4 separate regions of the Homo sapiens genome follow, and all the other regions are linked to region 4. The links are contacts of gene promoters, found by promoter capture Hi-C in human tissues and cell types (Jung and others, 2019). All regions are on one chromosome and are shown on one strand. The core of a region is centred on a gene start or on the middle of the fragment in contact, and the rest is flanking DNA. Distances in the headings are between cores, read along the strand shown. Region 1 holds the start of RTN3 (reticulon 3). Region 2 overlaps PLAAT5 (phospholipase A and acyltransferase 5). Region 3 overlaps ATL3 (atlastin GTPase 3). Region 4 holds the start of STX5 (syntaxin 5).

The links. Contacts are between HindIII fragments. The study calls those that stand out against the background at their distance.
Region 1: a contact is called between the fragment with the promoter of RTN3 here and the fragment with the promoter of STX5 in region 4, in 1 of the 25 tissues and cell types used here (dorsolateral prefrontal cortex).
Region 2: a fragment that was not itself captured here is called in contact with the fragment with the promoter of STX5 in region 4 in 1 of the 25 tissues and cell types used here (hippocampus).
Region 3: a fragment that was not itself captured here is called in contact with the fragment with the promoter of STX5 in region 4 in 1 of the 25 tissues and cell types used here (hippocampus).

What each region holds. Positions count from the first base shown.
Region 1 is chr11:63,679,331-63,682,884 of GRCh38, reverse strand. RTN3 (reticulon 3) reads right to left here and starts at 1,385. Exons shown (of 9, transcript NM_001265589.2): 1 at 1,107-1,385. The coding sequence starts at 1,248. RefSeq lists a silencer at 1,093-1,212. The HindIII fragment of the contact is 15,067 bases long and covers 1-3,554 here.
Region 2 is chr11:63,484,534-63,487,922 of GRCh38, reverse strand. The region is part of intron 3 of PLAAT5 (phospholipase A and acyltransferase 5); the gene reads left to right. It also overlaps the pseudogene LOC124902822. Among named protein-coding and RNA genes, the nearest start is that of PLAAT5, 4.9 kb to the left of the region's middle. The HindIII fragment of the contact is 8,832 bases long and covers 1-3,389 here.
Region 3 is chr11:63,622,759-63,625,910 of GRCh38, reverse strand. It overlaps ATL3 (atlastin GTPase 3), which reads left to right. Exons shown (of 13, transcript NM_015459.5): 13 at 1-1,824. All of the region lies in intron 1 of LNCROPM (lncRNA regulator of PLAAT3 mediated phospholipid metabolism), which reads right to left. Among named protein-coding and RNA genes, the nearest start is that of LNCROPM, 8.0 kb to the right of the region's middle. The HindIII fragment of the contact is 4,329 bases long and covers 1-3,152 here.
Region 4 is chr11:62,830,283-62,833,402 of GRCh38, reverse strand. STX5 (syntaxin 5) reads left to right here and starts at 1,352. Exons shown (of 11, transcript NM_003164.5): 1 at 1,352-1,449; 2 at 2,141-2,384. The coding sequence starts at 2,160. TEX54 (testis expressed 54) reads left to right here and starts at 562. Exons shown (of 1, transcript NM_001395459.1): 1 at 562-1,082. The coding sequence starts at 653. The coding sequence ends at 1,027. WDR74 (WD repeat domain 74) reads left to right here. Exons shown (of 11, transcript NM_001369450.1): 11 at 272-492. The coding sequence ends at 451. It overlaps STX5-DT (STX5 divergent transcript), which reads right to left and starts at 1,169. Exons shown (of 2, transcript NR_135084.1): 1 at 1,086-1,169. RefSeq lists enhancers at 842-891, 912-981, 1,352-1,441. The HindIII fragment of the contact is 7,048 bases long and covers 1-3,120 here.

The sequences.
Region 1 (3,554 bases), core at 136-2,635, 850 kb before region 4:
GTTCCTTTGAGAACTACCACCTGCCCATGGTGGTTTTTTTTTCCCCCCTTAAGAAGGCATCTGCACTGCAGATTTCTGCATAAGGGGAGCTTGCCAGGCAGCTCTTACCAGCAGGCAGACGCGTATACAATGCAAACTAAAGGAGGTCTGCAGCTTCGTTCTTAGTCTTTCACAGAGATGGGAGAAGGGGACTCAACCAGCCCTTGCTTTGTCTGAATGTTCTCCCCCTCCCCCTTTCTGCAATAAACACCCCCCTTTGTTATACTTCGATCAATAGTAGCCCACAGAAAACATGAAATCAAAACATGTTGATAGCTTAGCATGACTCTATTTTCTAGAATATAAGCGACTGATTGCGTGTCCCCACCCCCACGCAGCGCCAGGGAAGAGCAGGCTGTTGCAGATGCAGCCACGGATCCATCTTGGACCATTAGCAGCTCCCTCCCAAATCTTCCCTGAGCTATTCTCATCACGCCTCCTTCTACCTCGGAGCCTCAGAAAAATCCGGCATTCATGGAGTCTAGCCGAAAACAGTAAAAACAAAACAAACAAACAAAAAAAACAGGCTACAATGCTTCCATTAAACTTCCTCATCCTTCCCATGGGCAGCCAAAAATATTTTGGAGGACTATCATGAATGCTTGATTATGTCAACACCTGTCTGCAAACCTGCAATGCAACCCTTTCACCACCATCCCCTCAAAAATAGTAACAAATTGTTTCTCCCACCACCCACCTGCCCGTATCCTTTCAATCTCTCTAATCCTCACTAAATCACCCAGGTTCACCATATGCATCGAGCAACTCTCCATTTTATCCCACGAGCTGGTATTTTTCCCCACCTGCCCAGTCTTGGCGTTAACGCCCACTGGACTATCTCCCCGCCCCCAACCTGTTTTCCTCACACCCCGCTATTTCCTCACCGCCTGCACAACCTTACGTTCCCCTTCCCCTTTGCCCATTTTCCAAACGCTCGTCCCCGGGGGGCTGAAGCCGTCAGTAGTCGAGGGTAATTCGTCCTCCTCCCGCCTCGCCTCCTAATCCCCCCAGCCCCCAGGCTCCCGCTCGCCCTCTTTCCCAGGGCGGGGGCTCCCCGCGCGCCTTACCCGCACAGGAGGAGCTGCAGCTCTTCGTCCCCAGGGCGGGGCAGGCTCCTGGGCTCCCGCCGCCGCCGGGCGCGGACGGCTCGGCTCCGAAGGACGACGAGGAGATGGAATGGGACTGAGTGGCCGCCGACGGCTCCGCCATGGCTACGCGAGCGAGGGTGGGAGAAGGGTGAAAAGAGATACGGGGCGGGAGAGAGGGAGGGGAAATAGAATAATCCGGCAACTGGCTCGCTCAAGTCCCTTTACTCCGCCTGCTCCGAGGACAGACTCCGACAGACTGACTGACTCAGCCGAGCGCAGCTAGAGGGCGGGAGCGCGAGCGCGCATGCGCACAAAGGGCCCCAAGCGGGTGCCAAAGCGCGCAGCGGCGCAGGGCGCAGGCGCAAGAACCGCTCCTCTGCGCTCTTGCAGGGAAGGAGGGGCAAAGCCGGCCTCACGCGGCGCCTCGCGCGCCGAGGGTTGGGGAGCGTCCCTTGGGGACCAGACGCAAAAGGCGTATCCAAGCCCCAATCCCCGCCCACGACTGCGGCTAATCGTGGAGCTGCGGGATAGTATTCCCTCCTGCCTCTTTATGTGAATGTTTTAGGGTCGGCAGATTATGTATTTTAACGGTAGAAATGTCTTTGGGCTTCCATTATGGAAACTCTCTTTCCCGTACATTCCAGAGCCTATATCTTTTGTTTGATGCATTCCCACCTGTGACTCCAATAAAAACTGAAAACCAGAGTGTAGAGTAGGCCCACTCTGCAAGGTGCTTTGTGAATCTCACTGGCTGTGTCGTAATATCTCCTCACCGAGAGGCAGAGATGGCACGGCCCCCCATTTGGTAGGTGGAGAAAGATGCTATACAGAATGAAAAACGATTACTCATTCCAATCACATTGCAATGCAGTCGCAGAACCTGCTTCGTATTCTTATCTCGTTACTGTTGCCAGAGAAGGGTCCACCTTGGGTCTTAAGGTTCTCTTTTCCTCCGAATAGACTGTCAGATAGAGACGACATATTTTAGAGAGGGAAAAAAAATGCTGAGCTGATGAAGAAGAGCCAGGAGATAAGAAAATGTTGGCTGTGATTATGGGGGATGATAAAATTAGATATTAAAAATTCAGAATAAGGCCGCAGTCAGTGGCAGAGGCCCGTAGTCTCTGCTACGGCAGAGAAGGGAGGATCACTTGAGCCCAGGAGTTGGAGTCCAGCCTGGGCCACACAGCGAGAACCTTCCTGCCTTAAAAAAAAAAAAAAAAGTAAAAAAAATCAGAATAAGGCACAAAATACACATAATTGAATTTTATTCATAGACTAAAAGAGGTCCTTAGCAGAACATGTATTTAAAACCAGATTTCTAGCCTATATTGGATTTTGTTCATTTTTTGCTTTTCCTGGGCTGGATTGCCAAATTCGAAGCCTTCTCCCTACATCTGGTCAAAATATTGGAAAGGTGCATAGTCTTTGTTAAAGGAGGACTGTTGGCTGGGCGCGGTGGCTCACACCTGTAATCCCAGCACTTTGGGAGGCCGAGGCAGGTGGATCATCTGATGTCAGGAGTTCAAGAACAGCCTGGCCAATGTGGTGAAACCCTGTCTCTACTAAAAATACAAAAATTAGCTGGGGGTAGTGGCGGGCGCCTGTAATCCCAACTACTCGGGAGGCTGAGGCAGGAGAATTGCTTGAACTCGGGAGGCAGAGGTTGCAGTGAGCAGAGATCTCACCATTGCACTCCAGCTTGGGTGAAAGAGCAAATCTCCGTCAAATAAAAAAAAAAAAAGGAGGACTGTATCCTGGAAATAATAAAAATCAAGGCTGTCGACTGTTACTGCTAAAGCAGCAATCGATGACCCAAAGTACAATTGCAGGATCAGCAGATCCTGTAAAGATGCAGCCTCATGAAGCGGGAGGTGGTCAGCCAAGCTGCCACTGAGGGGAAAGGCGATCTGACCAGTGGAAATCTTCTAGAACAAGCTGTGTACTACATCTGCCCTTGAGTTTTTAAGGTCAGGTAAAGCCCCAGGGGGTGGGAGGATGACTCCTGGCCTTTGCAATGCTCTGAAAAAGGCATAGAAAAATATTTCCCAAAATAACTTTGTGGCTAATACCTTACCCTGGCACTTACTGCATCAGCTGATAATGCAGCAAACTGTCTCTTGGATGGCAAAGGGAAATAATAGCAGATCGGATAACCAAGCCAGTTATCTACCCATTCTGATACGTGCATATGTTTTTTTAAAAATCGCATTATTAGGGGAGCTGTTTTCTTCTTCCTTCCTTCTTTCTTGTCTATTAAACGCTCTGCTCCTTAAAACAAAACAAACAAACAAAAATCTACATTATTAAGTGCTAGATAAGGAAATAAATGATGCTGGTAGCTAACTCTGACAGCACTTGCTACAATCTGGAGACTCCAGCTGGAAGGAAGTCCATTTTCCTAATATGTAGCAGCAGAGAAGTTAA
Region 2 (3,389 bases), core at 821-3,320, 650 kb before region 4:
CCTCCCGCCTCGGCTTCCCAAAGTGTTGGGATTACAGGCATGAGCCACTGCAGCCAGCCCATATAACTATTTTGACTGACATCCATGTTGTTGCTTTTTATCAACAGTTCATTCCTTTTTATTACTGAGCAGTATTTCATTGTATGGATATACCACTCTTGTTTATGTGTTCACCTGTTGATTGAGCATTTGAGTTGTTACTAGTTTTTGACTATCACAAATCTGCTTGAACATTTATGTACGAGTCTTTGTGCAGACTGTATATTTTTTCCTCTTGGGTGAATATGTAGGAATGAAATGGCTAGGTCATGTGGTAGATGTATATTTAATTTACTGTTTTCCTTAACATTTTTTTTTTCTTTTTTGGGGCTTTCCAAGCCTGCCAGACAAATTCTAAAAGAGCTCTAACCTTAACTTACTGTTTTCCACAGTGGTTGTATCATTTTACATTCCTACCAGCAGTTTATAAGAGTTCCAGTTCATCAGCATTTGGCATGGTCAAAATCTTCTAAATTTTAGCTATTTTAATAGATGTGTAGGTATCTCATTGTGGTTTTCATTTGCATTTTCCTAATGACTAATAATGTTGAACGTCTTTTCATGCGTATATTTGCCATCCATATATATAATCTTTGGTGAAGTGTTCAAATCTTTTGCCCATTTTTTCCTATTGGTTTGTATGTTTTGAGAGTTCTTCAGAAGTTCTGTATACAAGTACGTCATCAGATATATACTTTATAATATTTTCTCTCCATCTGTGGCTTGTCTCTTCAGAACAGGTTCTTAAATTTTGATGAAGTCCAATGTGTCAGCTTTTCCTTTTATAAAACGGAAATGTAATGAAATACTGCTCAGTAATAAAAAGGAATGAACTGTTGATAAAAAGCAACAACACGGATGTCACTCAAAATAGTTATATGAAGGAGACCGCCAAAGAAGTGGACATACAACATGATTTCATATAAATCTCTATGAATAGTGCCTTTGGTGGTGTATCTAAGAGACCTTTGCCTAATCCAGTGTCACAAAGATTTTCTCCTGTTTTCTTCTAGGTATTTTATAGTTTTGTTTTTTACATTTACATATTTGATACATTTTTATCTGTATTTTTATTTCAATAGTTTTGGGGGAACAGGTGGTGTTTGGTTGCATGCAAAAGTTCCTTCGTGGTGATTTCTGAGATTTTAGTGCATCCATCACCTGAGCAGTGTACACTATACTCAATGTGTAGTCTTTTATCCCTCACCCCACTCCCACCCTTCCCTTCTGAGTCCCTAAAGTTGATTACATCATTCTTATGCCTTTGTGCCCTCATAGCTAGCCCCCACTTATAAGTGAGAGCATATGATTTTTTTGTTTTCCATTCCTGAGTTACTTCACTTAGAATAATGGTCTCCAGCTCTATCCAGGTTGCTGTGAATGTCATTGTTTCATTCCTTTTTACGGCTGAGTAGTATTCCGTGGTGTGTGTGTATGTGTGTGTGTGTGCATATATATATATACCACATTTTCTTTGTCCACTCATTGGTTGATGGTCATTTAGGCTGGTTCCATATTTTTGCAGTTGTGAATTGTGCTGCTATAAACATGCATGTGCAAGTGCCTTTTTCATACAATGACTTCTTTTCCTCTGGTTAGATACCCAGTAGTGGGATTGCTGGATCAAATTGTTGTGCTACTTCTAGTTCTTTAAGGAGTCTCCATGGTGTTTTCCATAGTGATTGTATCAGTTTACATCCCCACCAGCAGTGTAAAAGTGTTCCCTTTTCACCACATCTATGCCAACACATATTATTTTTTTTATTTTTAAGTTATGGCCATTTTGGAGGAGTAAGGTGGTATTATTGCATCGTGGTTTTGATTTGCATTTCTCTGATAATTAGTGACGTTGAGCAGTTTTTTAATATGTTTGTTGGCCATTTGTATATCTTCTTTTGAGAATTGCCTGTTCATGTCCTTTGCCCACTTTTTGATGGGATTGTTTTTTTCCTTGCTGATTTATTTGCTTGATTTCCTTGCAGATTTTGGATATTAGTCCTTTGTTGAATGCATAGTTTGTACAAATTCTCTCCCACTCTGTGGGTTGTCCGTTTACTCTGCTTATTGTTTCTTTTGCTGTGCAGAAGCTTTTTGGTTTAATTAGGTCCCATCTATTTATCTTTGTTTATGTTGCATTTGCTTTTGGGTTCTTGATCATGAACTCTTTTCCTAAGCCAATGTCTAGAAGGGTTTTTCTGATGTTATCTTCTAGAATTTTTATGGTTTCATATCTTAGATTTAAATCTTTGATGCATCTTGAGTTGATTTTTGTAGAAGGTGAGAGTTGAGGATCCAGCTTTATTCTTCTACATGTGGCTTGCCAATTATCCCAGCATTTTTTGTTGAATAGGATGTCCTTTTCTACTTTATGTTTTTGTTTGCTTTGTTGAAGACAGTTGGCTGTATTTTGTTTTATTTCTGGGTTCCCTATTCTGTTACATTGGTCTACATGCCTGTTTTTATACCAGTACCATGCTGTTTTGGTAACTATAGCCTTGCAGTATAGTTCAAAGTCAGGTAATGTGATGCCTCAAGATTTGTTCTTTTTGCTTAGTCTTGCTTTGGCTATGTGGGCTCTTTTTTGGTTCCATACTAATTTTAGGATTGTTTCATTCTAGTTCTGTGAATAGGTATTTTGATGGGAATTACACTAAATTTGTAGATTGCTTTTGGCAGTATGATCATTTTCACAATATTGATTCTACCCATCCATGAGCATGAGATGTGTTTCCATTTGTTTGTGTCATCTGTGATTTCTTTCAGCAGTGTTTTGTTTTCCTTGTAGAGATCTTTCATGTCTTTGGTTAGGTATATTCCTAAGTATTTTTTTTTTTTTACAGCTGTTTTAGAAGGGGTTGAGTTCTTGATTTGATTCTCAGCTTGGTCATTGTTGGTGTACAGCAGGGCTACTGATTTGTGTACAATAATTTTGTATCCTGAAACTTTGCTAAATTGATTTACCAGTTCTAGGACTTTTTGGATTAGGCTTTAGGGTTTTCCAGGTCTATGATCATATCAGCAAACAGCAACAGTTTGACTTCCTTTTTACTGATTTGGATGCCCTTTATTTCTTTCTCTTGTCTGATTGCTCTGGCTAGGACTTCTAGCACTATGTCGAATAAATGTGGTGAAAGTGGGCATCCTCGTCTTTTTCCAGTTATCTGGGGGAATGCTTTCAACTTTTCCCCAATCACTATAATGTTGGCTGTGGGTTTGTCGTAGATGGCTTTTATTGCCTTGAGGTTTGTCCCTTTTATGCTGATTTTGTTGAGGTTTTTAATCATAAAGGGATGCTGGATCTTGTCAAATGCTATTTCTGTGTCTATTGAGATAATCATGTGATTTTTGTT
Region 3 (3,152 bases), core at 574-3,073, 790 kb before region 4:
TCCTGGGTTCAAGTGATTCTTTTGCCTCAGCCTCCCAAGTAGCAGGGATTACAGGCATGTGCCACCACACCCGGCTTATTTTTGTATTTTTAGTAGAGACAGGGCTTCGCCATGTTGACCAGGCTGGTCTCAACTCCTCTGGGAATCCGCCTGTCTTGGCCTTCCAGGGTGCTGGGATTACAGGCGTGAGCCACTGGAACCTGGCCTTGTTTTGCTTTATTTTTTCTCTTACATGAAGTAAAGCGCTTTGGTCAAACACACAAAAATACTGCCTTGTACTGGTGGTTGGTTTCATTAGTGGATCACACACAGTGTTCTACTTGGCTTGTAAAATGGTGCCTTGGATAGGGTGAGTTTGGATAAGTATGTATGTATGTATGAGTTATAGCAAAATTAAGTAGATTGAATCAAGTCCATGCAAAAGCAATAAAACAGTTTTAATTTTTTAATTTTTTAAAAATTAAAACTTTAATAAAACAGTTTTTAATTTTTTGCTAGGTTCTTTTAAAAAATGATGTAACTTACATGGAAGTCTTCACAGGACTTTTTTCTTTCCTGGAACTATTGAAATGTAATTTAGGATGATTTGATCTTCCATCTCAAGTTGTCAACATGGCTGTGTCATTCTGGCTTACATATGTTTTATTTAACAAAATTCTAGTCAAGGGATAAGGGCATAATGAAGACAAGCTTCAGTTATGAAAGTACAAACTATTTGTGTGATTAATTTTTAAAAATGACATTAAGAAGCCCATTGTAAAATAATATTTGCAGTCAAATGGTTTTTCTTGCTGTAAGTCCTGTTGTAGCTATGTTTAGGGTAGTGGTTCTCATCTACCTTGGAGTGCATAAGACTTACCTAGCAGGCTTGTTTAAAAAGTTCAGATTCCTAGCTTTGTACCCAGGGATTGCCTCAGGTGGTATGGGCTGTGGTCCTGGAGTCATCACTTTTATAAATAGTGGTTCAGAGACCACAGAGAGAGACTGCTTCATCGAATGGGAAGTACCAAGGAGAAAGTACAATTCAGTATTGTCTGGAGGCAAGTGGACACTTTGTACCTGAGGTTTAGAATAGGTGGTCTCTTGCCAGTACAATCCCCAGGCGTTTTCTGTGTTCAGAAGTAGTAAGAATGCCTTTAATTCAGAGGATTATCTAAGCTCTTTAAAGCTGTTTTTCTCCATTGTCATAGTGCCTTCTCTGAAAAATGAATGTACAGGTATCCTATTTTCTAATGTAATTAGGATTTTTTAAAAGCAATTTTTGATAGTTTTTCTTTTAAAAAGTAAAATTCAGCACTGTGACTTGAACCCCCAAATCTTTCACATACAGGTGAAACATTAAGCCACAAATAAAAATAATGAACAAGAAAGAAGACAAGATCCTAATTCCTGTCATTAGTGACCTAAGTACCCCATATCAGAAACTTTGCAAAACAGATCTAGGGACAGAAGGGCTTTGAAAGACATTTTTCTTTGGGGCAAATTTCGTGTGCCAGAACTACAGTTTAAATGTTTTTATGAGCAAGGGAAGGTAGCATTGATTCCCATAGCTTTCTAATTAGATACATGCTGTCATGGATGTAAGCCTTAAAGGAGTTAATACTAATCTTGTACATACACAAATTTTCCTCAGGTTTTTTTATTTTAAAAAATGATTTGTTAAAAGTACTGTCTGCTAGACCCTTGCCTTTGAGTGGCTTTGAAACTTAATATAGTTTTTAAAAAGTGCAATGGGATGAGATTATGCTATTAGTATATTAAAAGCATGTTTCTGTTTTACTCCAATTTGTAAGATCATTTAATGGAATAAAGATCACAACACCATGTTATCTGTGTTTTCTTTCTCTGTGTTTTTAATATGGGAGGTTCTGTGAAATAGTTTGGCTTGGCAAAGTGAATAAGACTTCTGACGGGATAGTGGCAATGTGGTTTGAGTTAGCTTTCTCTGTCCTACAAAACGACACTGAACAAGTGTCTTACTAGCATAGTCCTGGAGAAGGCTCTATTGTTGGCAGGGTTGCTTAAAAGTGAGCACAAGGGCCAGGTGTCGTGGCTCACTCCTGTAATCAGCACTTTGGGAGGCTGAGGTGGGAGAAATGCTTGAGCCCAGGAATTTGAGACCAGCTTGGGCAACATATGGAGACACTTTCCACCTCTGTCTCTACAAAATAAAAGTGCATAGTGGCACCCACCTGTAGTCCTAGCTACTCGGGAGGCTGAGGCAGGATGATCACTTGAGCCCAAGAGTTTTGAGACCAGCTTGGGCAACATATGGAGACACCTTCCACCCCGTCTCTGGAAAAAACAAAAAACAAACCCAGGCATGACGGTGCGCACCTGTAGTCCTAGCTGCTCTGGAGGCTGAGGCAGGATGATCACTTGAGCCCAGGAGTTGGAGGCAGCAGTGAATTACGGTCCCATCACTGTACTGCAGCCTGGGCAACAGCAAGACCCTGTCTCTCAAAAAAAATTACGCAAATTTCATTTACAGTAACATGGACTTGTGAAGACCTCTGAATTTGTAGCACTTTCATTTAGTTGCCCCATCTGGAGCCAGCTGATTAAACAGTTGCTCTTCAGGGGTGGGGGCAGGGAACGTAAATCTCTACTTAAAGCTTTCTCTTTCACTGATGGACACAGTGAGGAGATTGAATTGAACTTCTCAAATACGACAAATAGCTAGACATACCCCATTTAGCCCTACAGTAAAAAGATTTCTTCCCAAGTTGGAAACACTGGGTGGGATCAGCAGACTTTCTCTATCCAACCATCCATCCCTGGTTGTTACCATGTGTCAGGTGCTTTGCCAGGTGCTGCCCTTGAGTTCATCACAGTTTAGCAGGGAAGGGGCAAACTCAGAGGCTGATGATGTGAAGAGTATGGTGAAAACAAAGATTCAGGACTTGGGTGCCACCATCTACACTGATGTGTAGACGCTCTCAGCATAAACTGGGGAGAAGGAAGGACCAGGGTGACGAATGCGGTCCTGTATAGATGGGGAGCAGTCAAGCAAGCTGGCTTGTCTTTGGCGCATTGACATTCTTGCTTTTGATTATCATATATCACTTTGCAAAAGACAAGTCCAACTCTAATTAGCTTAAAGAAGGAAAAAATTGTTAACTGGGAAAAAGTTTCTTGTAATCGGACATATA
Region 4 (3,120 bases), core at 103-2,602:
TGGTGGTACCCAGAGGGATTCTTTCTCAGCCAGGGTCTCCTTCCCTGTGGGTTTGTCCCTGTGCCCCTGACTACTTTTCTTTTTTTTTTTTTTTTTTTTTTTTTTTAAACTTCTTTTTGTGGAGATGGGGTCTCCTTATGTTGCCCAGTCTGGTCGCTAAGTCCTGGGCTCAAGCAATCCTCCTGCCTTGGTCTCCCAAAGTGCTGAGATTACAGGTGGGAGCCACCGTGCCCGGCCCCCCTGACTCCTAAGCTTTCTTCCCACTCACCAGGATGAGCCCCAAGAGCCTCAAGAACCCAACAAGGTGCCCCTAGAAGACACAGAGACAGATGAACTTTGGGCATCCTTGGAGGCAGCTGCCAAGCGGAAGCTCTCGGGTTTGGAGCAGCCCCAAGGAGCTCTCCAAACGAGACGGAGAAAGAAGAAGCGGCCTGGGTCCACCAGCCCCTGACGCCCCTGTGCCCACTTTGTAAATAAACTGCTGAACACCCACCATGACCCTGAGCCTTTTGTGATGGGAGAAAGGAATGAGGGGTAGCTTGGGGTGGGGGCTGCCTGAGCTGGGGCGACGGGATATCTGATGTCACAAAAGCCGGGCCTGGAGGCAGGCAGGCTGGCGTGGGTGGCACGGAGTCCAGGGCCACGCGGGGCCATGGGCTGCTGCCAAGACAAGGACTTTGAGATGTCTGATGAGCAGTCCAAGGAGGAAGAGTCTGAGGACGGCAGGGAAGATGAGACCACAGACACACAAAGAGGGCCCAGGGAGTGTGAGAGGGGGCTTCCCGAGGGTAGGGGTGAGCTCAGAGGCCTCGTCGTCCCCTCAGGCGCCGAAGATATCGACTTGAACTCCCCGGACCATCCGAATCACAAGTCGAACGAAAGCCTTCTGATTACCGTGCTGTGGCGGCGACTATCCACGTTCGGTCGTCGGGGCTCCTCGCGGCCAAGCAAGAGGCAACCAGACCAGATTCGGAAGCAGGAGAGTCCGATCCGAGAAGGCAACCAGGAGGAGCCGGAGAAGGGATGACCCCAGACCTGCTCTCAGTCCGCCCCAACCTCCAGAGAATAAAATTTCTAACGTATACCTGCACGACCACTCTGGGGGACTGGGCGCGGACACCACCGGGCAGCTGGTTCTTTAAGGCTCCTTCCCGGAGGCGGGCCCAGCCCCCTGAGCGCCTGCTGTAGTACTCTGGGGCGGGGTCACGGTGGCGCCTTAGCCAATGGGAGGGCGGGATCGCTCTTGCGTTTGGGTGTGGGGCGTGTCTTTCGGGTCGCTGGGCTTGAAACGCGTGGGACCGCCCCCTCGTCACTGGGGGTGGGGTTACGTGTAGGTGACGTGGCCGCTTCCAGTCTTTGGTCGGGTTTCGGCGGCTTCAGTGCTCGGGGAGGAGGCAGTGACGGCCGGTGAGATTGGAAGTGGCGGCGGCGGCAGGCGGCAGAGGGGAGGTAAGATTCGCTTTAAGAGGGGATCTGGCCGCCGTGTCAGCTCTGGGGCAGTGGTTTTACGGGGGCGACGACTGGCGGGGGGAAGGGAATCAGGGGCGAGCGGGCAAGTCCTGCCGGCCCGGCTCCGGGTGAGCGAATTCCTTGCCGTCCAATCAGGAAAGCCTCTGTTGAGAGAGACGTCGGCCTTAGCTAATGAGTGGTTGAAGTCTTCCAGAAGGCGGACCTTGGGCGGGGGGTGGGACTTCCTGTTTCAAATAAACACCCAGAGGTTTTCCCCCTCCGCCCACCGAAGTGTGTCAGTCTTTGGAGGTCCGTCACTGGCCCTCCCGGAGGGGCCGAAGGAAACCGCGGAAACGAAAGGGCTGGGTTAGGGCCCGGGGCAGTTACACGGGCCGGGCCGGAGTCTCAGGACCACGGGGTTGGCTCTGGCCCTGTCTCTGCTTCAGGGTCCCCGGCCCGCGCTCTGGCCGCCAGAGCCAAGTTGGAAGAAGAGTCTGAAGCGGGTTCGACTTGGGACAGGGGAAAAGCGGGGCCCTTTCCGCTGCTGGTCCGCCCCAGGATTTGCGAGCGTCCTGGGCGCGAAAGTCCACGAGAAGTGCAGAAGGGGCTCGGGGATTTGTTGATTGGGGTGGGGCGGGGGAGTTTGGGTAAAGAAGTTGCCTGGGGAATGACACTCTCCCCTCCACAACAGTCCGAGGTTATGCGTCTCAATGATCCCGCGGAAACGCTACGGGTCTAAGAACACGGATCAGGGTGTCTACCTGGGTCTCTCAAAGACACAGGTCCTGTCCCCTGCAACTGCTGGCAGTAGCAGCAGCGACATCGCCCCTCTGCCCCCCCCAGTGACCCTCGTCCCTCCCCCTCCCGACACCATGTCCTGCCGGGATCGGACCCAGGAGTTTCTGTCTGCCTGCAAGTCGCTGCAGACCCGTCAGGTAAGGACCTGGAGTGGAAAAGGCGAGGAGTGAGCCTTACTCAAATCTAGGAAGGACTGTGCTCCACCACTGTTAACCGAAGTAATTTTGGGGGGTACCTGATGGAACTGATAGGCTTGGATGGGGCCTGTAGGGTCTGCTATAAGCAACAGAGAAGAGGTCGGCTGGCTAACTAGGGGCAAGGACTTAGACTTTTTTTTGTGAGGAATCCTTTGGAGGGCAGGATTGCTATTCTGGAGGGAGTACTTCAGAGAGTACTTGGCTGCAATATAATTGGTGTGAATAAGGAACAAGTTCTAGGAAGAGCCTTTAGCTGAGAAACATGCACCTTGAATTTTCCAATATACTTCTACCATAAGTTTGCTCTGTAACCATGAGAAAATTAGTTAATCTAGTTACATATTAGTTTTTATCTCTGTAAGATTAAGGACATTTTCTAGATAAGTAATTTGTTGTTTTTGTTTTGTTTTGAGATCTGTTTTTCAACTCTGTCAACAGGCTGGAGTGTAGTGGTGTGATGATAGCTCACTTGCAGTCTTGAACTCCTAGACTCAAGGGATCCTCTTTCCTCAGCCTCCTGAGCAGCTGGGACTACATGGATGCACCACTCAGCTAATTTTAAAATTTTTTCGTACAGGCAGTGTCTCACTATGTTGCCCAGGTTGGTCTGGACACCACACCTGGCCCTAGATCAGTAATTTGTATCAAAATCACTTAGGGTTGGATGTGGTGGCTC